Linked DNA regions of Homo sapiens: region 2 is linked to region 1. Evidence: promoter capture Hi-C in human tissues and cell types (Jung and others, 2019). All regions are on one chromosome and are shown on one strand. Each heading gives the region's core, a stretch centred on a gene start or on the middle of the fragment in contact. The rest is flanking DNA. Distances are from core to core; before and after follow the strand shown.

Region 1 (2,700 bases), core at 107-2,606:
AGGGCTGCCTGGCTCTTGTCGCTGGGCCCCAGCAGCTCCTGGTCGTACACCAGGTAGACGGCGCCCCCAGCCACACTTCCCTTGATGAGGAACCTGCGGGCAGGGACGGGAGGAGCAGAAGCTCAGCGGACACTGACAGCCACCCTCAGGGGCCAAGGCCCACGGGGAGAGTGAGACCCTCCTGAGGGCTCACCGTCCACAGGGTGACACTCTGTAGTGCAGCACCGTCGACCCAGACCCCTATTATATACAGCACTCGTTTTACAACGTGCAAGGCAGGGCGGCTGGACGCCACTTGAACTGATGAACTGAAACCCAGAGGGGGAGAGTGGGTCACTCAAAGTCCCACAGTGAGCAGGGGCAGTGAAGACGTAAGATCTTGACCTTCTAGAAGCCTTCCAGCCCTGGAGAAACCAAGTGTCCCTGGGCGCCTCCTGCCCGCTGTCACTCGCAGCTCCGAGCACGCATTCACTTCTCATCCACGCCAGCGGCAGGATTCACCGGCATTCCCACCTCACAGAGAAGACAACTGAGGCTCGGAGGCGGAGGCTGACACCGCGAACTGAACGCCAAGGGCTCGCTGGGAAGCAGGAGGGAGGGGATTGGCGACCTCGGGAAGCCCCGCCCCTCTGAAGCCTCAGTTTCCCTATCTGGCCCATAGGCGGGGAACGAAGGGGAAGTGACTCTAAGGGAAGCGAAGAGCAGATCGGGACCAGACTGGAGACAGGGATGCCCACAAAAATGGACTTTTTCGGGGACTCGGGTCCCCTCCGGCGCCCCCACGCACCTCATCAGCGACCACACCCGGGCCACCATGGTCGCTCGGATCCACGCGCAAGGACACTCGGCTCGCCCGCCGCTTCCTGTCGCGGCGCCGCAGAGGCCTCTGGAAGGTGTAGTCTTTCTTGCCCGACGCAAGGTCCTCTGGGAGTCGTGGTGTCTTGCGGCTCTGAGACTCCAGAGAAGGGCTGCGGTCTCGCAGCGGAGGGCCGCTGGGAAATGGACGCTTTAAGGCCCGGGCCGCCGCAAGGCTGTCTGGGAAATGTAGTCAGCACGGCGCTGTTTGCACCTGGCCGCGGAGCCTCCTGGGAAATGTAGTTCGGCCCGGCCCTGGCACCGTGAGGGGAAAGAGGCGTCAGGTGCCTGGCTGAAGCCTGAAGGTGACCCGAAAACAAGTCAGAGCCCGAGAGATCCACCCGCGCCCGCGCGGGGGACCAAGGGCCCGGATTTAAGAAGAGTGTGCCTACAAGGCGGTTGTCACGGCAACGAGAGGGCGGGATTGTTCGAGCGCTGCGGCCCCCTCACGTGATCGATTCGGAGGCGGGGCGTCCGCCCAGTGGGCGGGGCCGGGCCCCTGCTGGGAGGCGAAGACCAGGCGGGCACTGTTGCCCGGCGACGCTCCGGCGCTGGGTCCCCGAGGCCCGGCCCCTCCCCGGGAGGAGGTGGGCTTCGAGTCACGTGACCCGTGCCCTACGGGAGGGGGTGCGGTCGGGGACCCGGCAGGAGGCGGCCGAGAAGAGAGGACCGTGGGGGCGTTCGCGTGGCTCCCAGCCCGGGACCCCACCCCCGCTGGACAGTGGGGGAAACTGAGGCCTGAGCGGGTGAGTGCACGGTTTAGGGGTGCGCAGAGGGTCACACGCCCGCTTTGTTCAGAGGGGAAGCTAAGGCCCGCCGAGGTCAAGAAGGGGCCGATGCGTTCTGCAGGGCTTCCCCCCATTTCTCCCGCATTTCGGCCGGGCTGCTTCAACCGTTCATCTGCCCATCCATCCATCTGTCCCCCACCCGTCTATCCATCTGGCCATCCACCCATCTATCCTTCCATCTATCCATCCACACTTCCGTTCATCCATCTGTCCGCCCATCCATTCATCCATCTGCTCCCCCCATCCTTCCACTCATCCATCTGTCCACCCATCCATCTATTTATCTGGCCACCCACTCATCTATCCGTCCATCCATCCATCCATCCATCCATCCATCCATGCATCCGTCCGTCCATCCATCCATCCATCCATCCATCCATTTATGTGTTCCCATTTATCCATTCATACATCCATCCACTCATCCATCTATCCACCCATACATCTCTCCGTCCATCATCCATCCATCCACCCATCCATCTATTCATCTGGCCATCCACCCATCCATCCTTCTATCTATGCATCCATACATGCATCTGTCCATCTATCCATTCATCCATCCACCCATCCGTCCACCCGTCAGTCCATCTGGTCCCACTTCCCCCTGCCGGGCTGCTGCAGTCAGTGTAGAGCTGGGGGTGGAAAGAGGGATGAGCAGAGGAGCTTCATGGGCTGTCCCTGGAAGGGGAAAAGGTGGAAGCTCGTTTCTTGCTGTGGGCATGCCTGGTGTGTCTGGGAAAGGTGAGGAGTTCATTATTTTGAGAACTGAACGATTCATAGATGGGGCCGTGGGAGAGAAGGATAGACAGGTAGTCAGGGGCTATACCTGCAGGGCCTCATGGGGTGCAGTGAGGAGCCTGGTTTCCATCAGTTGCAGTGGGGACCCCTGAGAGGGTTTGGAGCAGGAAGGGCCATGGCCATGTTGCTTTTGACACAGACGCCTTTGGCTGCATTGACAGAAGAGGCAGGGAGAGAATGAGTATGGACATGGGGAAGCCAGTGTGGAGGTGGGGGAGACCAAATCGGAGATGGAAGGGAGGCCAAAGGAAAGATGGGGGTG
Region 2 (2,700 bases), core at 96-2,595, 630 kb before region 1:
GACGTGAACAGCCTGGTGTCAATAACAGGCAGAAACATGCTTCAAAAGGCTGGCTTCTGTGGTGCTCTCAGGCAGCGGGGCTAAGAATATCTGAAGAGACTGAGCGCCTCAAAATCTCTTTGGCAATGCGGATTGAAACCAGAGCCAGCACCTGCAACTTCCCCCCGCCAACTTCCCGCAGCCCCTTCTGTCACCCAGGCCGGGGGGGCCGGAGTGCAGGTGGGTGTGGGGAGGGTCCGAGCTTTCCACTTGACCCTGTATTCCAGGGTCTTCCTGGGTGGGGTGGTGGCCTGGGGTCGGTGTCCTGAAGGCTGTGCCCCATAGAAGCCACTGTCCCAGGCCACACTCCTTGCCATAGATCAAGACTCTCCTGGGGCCAGGCGCGGTGGTTTGCGCCTGTAATCCCAGCACTTTGGGAGGCTGAGGCGGTTGGATCATGAGGTCAGGAAATCGAGACCATCTTGGCTAACACGGTGAAACCCCGTCTCTACTAAAAATACAAAAAATGAGCCGGGTGTGGTGGCAGGTGCCTATAATCCCAGCTACTCGGGAGGCTGAGGCAGGAGAATGGTGTGAACCCAGGAGGCGGAGCTTGCAGTGAGCGGAGATCACACCCCTGCACTCCAGCCTGGGCGACAGAGTGAGACTCCGTCTCAAAATAAATAAAAAATAAATAAATAAAAAGACCCTCCTGGAACCTGGGGTGGGGGTGGTTTAGCCGAGCTGACCCTCCAAGGCCGGTCCTGCGGCTGTTCCCCTCCAGGCATCCCCTCCCCAACCTGCACCTGTGGCAGCCCCTGCAGGGCCCACCCTCCTGAGCCGCCCGGGCCAGGCACGAAACACAGGCGTCGCCACGAGGCTGAGCGCAGTGTCGCCAGCAGCATCACATGCCACATGCCCCTAGAAGAGAGTTCCAGGCCGGGGTGGGAGGATGTTGGGTCTCGGCCAGCCCTGAGAGAGTTGCTGGTCCCAGGGCACTTCTGGGTCATTCGGATTGTGCTGTGCACCCCAAAGAAGAGAGTGGAGTGGCCATCCCCCCTCGAGGGCCCTGGCCCACGCTGCCTGGGAAAGTGCCCACTGTTCAGTCCTGTGCACCCATGTGCCGGGCTGGGACCTGGCCGAGGCTTCGGGTCCCCTTTTGCCCCCAACCCATCAGACACCCTGCAGGGCAGTGTTGGGGTGTTTAGGGGACTGTGGGCCACCGCCAAGAGCAGAAGCTTTGGCTCTCACTGCAGCAGGGAAGCCAGATGGGGGATCAGCATGTTCCTGGGGCTGCAGGGACTCCCGAGGACGTCGTGAGCTGATGGGACATGGTCAGCTGCTTGCACTGGCTCCAAGGCGGCGAGAGGAAGGCCCTCCTGAGGAGTGCCGCGGGGCCAGCGCAGGTGCGTGGCAGCCACAGAGGCCTCTGCTCAGGCTTAGGGAAGGGGGTGTCCCCCAGGGTCTCTGCAGCTCCGCTTGTCAGAAGGGGGGTCATCCTGCACCCAGGTGAAGCCCCCAAGAGCAGCGGGGCGAAGGAGCGCTTGCCCGGACTGCGACCTTGACCTGCCCATGACCCGCGGCAGTCTGGAAATCCCCCATTGCCCCAGGCAGGATGGGGGTCCCCCATGGTCTCATCTCTGGCTGTTTCCTCAGGGGATCGCTCCGCCCACCCTCTCCTGCCTCTGTTTACCTTGGACACACTCAGTCTCCGGTGCAGGTGTGGGAGGTGGGGGTCTCGGAGCTTGTGCTCCCGTGAAGGGCACGGAGCCCCCAGTTGCTCTTGGCCATCCTGGGCTGCTATGAGCCAGACCCTCCTGAGTGCTGCGGGGAGGGCTGCTGGGGAGGCCAGGGGAGAGGGGATTATCAGAAGACTCCACCAGCCTCCCTTGACCTTTAAGGAGCTGCAAGCCGAGAATTTTCCCTTTTGATTCAGCTACACCTTGAGTTTTCTCTCTGGCGTTTTCCCTCATGGGAATTTCACAGCATCTTTTCTTCTTGCTGCCAGGGAAACTTGAGTCCTAGCAGGCATAGCCGTCTTTTGCTTCATGGGTGTCCCTGGAGGTGTGCGTGCATGTGTGTGTGTGCATGGGCGCATGTGTGCACCGAGGAACCGTGCTCCAGACACTGGGGGTGGGGGTGGGGAGGGTGGGGGTGGGGAGGGTGGGTTCCAGGGCTGCAGGGGACCAGCCCGGGCTTCCTGCCCTGTGGCCGCAGGTGGGTGGAAGGCAGAGCCTGGGGTGGATGAGTCTGTCGCCCACCCAGGCCAAGCCAGGCTGTTCTTGGGGTGGAGGCTGCGGGCCTGCTCCCTTACCCCTCTGCTGCCCGCCTAACTGCCCCTCAGGACCTCCCTGGCCCACCCGCCTCCCAGCTCCATCTCCTGCTGGCAGCTCCTGCCTGGGGGCAGACACCTCCCTCCCTCCTGGGCTCCCTCAGTCTGGCTGCAGGTGGCACTGTCGGGCCCCACAATGGCCTCTGCCCTGTCCCTTGGAGTGGGACCCAGGAGTCTGGTGGGTGATGGAGCTGGCGAGCCCGTCCCAGGCAGCAGCCTGAAGGCCCATGGGGTAGCGCGCTGGCGCCCGGGGACCCTGGTGTGGGTTTGTACTGCTGCTGCTGGCGAGCCAACCACTGGGACTTCCAGCTTCTGAGCCCGGGACCCGGGGGGTCCCACCAGCAGTGGGGACCTAGGGTCCCAGTCTACTGACCGTAAGGCATGGCCCC

The links. Contacts are between HindIII fragments. The study calls those that stand out against the background at their distance.
Region 2: a contact is called between a fragment that was not itself captured here and the fragment with the promoter of HSD11B1L in region 1, in 1 of the 25 tissues and cell types used here (dorsolateral prefrontal cortex).

What each region holds. Positions count from the first base shown.
Region 1 is chr19:5,679,671-5,682,370 of GRCh38, forward strand. HSD11B1L (hydroxysteroid 11-beta dehydrogenase 1 like) reads left to right here and starts at 1,357. Exons shown (of 8, transcript NM_198706.3): 1 at 1,357-1,601. It overlaps MICOS13 (mitochondrial contact site and cristae organizing system subunit 13), which reads right to left and starts at 846. Exons shown (of 4, transcript NM_205767.3): 1 at 788-846; 2 at 1-93. The coding sequence starts at 816. RefSeq lists enhancers at 1-74, 455-564, 595-674, 695-794, 805-1,274 and a silencer at 1,325-1,534. The HindIII fragment of the contact is 40,206 bases long and covers 1-2,700 here.
Region 2 is chr19:5,050,245-5,052,944 of GRCh38, forward strand. The region is part of intron 6 of KDM4B (lysine demethylase 4B); the gene reads left to right. Among named protein-coding and RNA genes, the nearest start is that of KDM4B, 82 kb to the left of the region's middle. RefSeq lists an enhancer at 1,760-2,259. The HindIII fragment of the contact is 6,767 bases long and covers 1-2,700 here.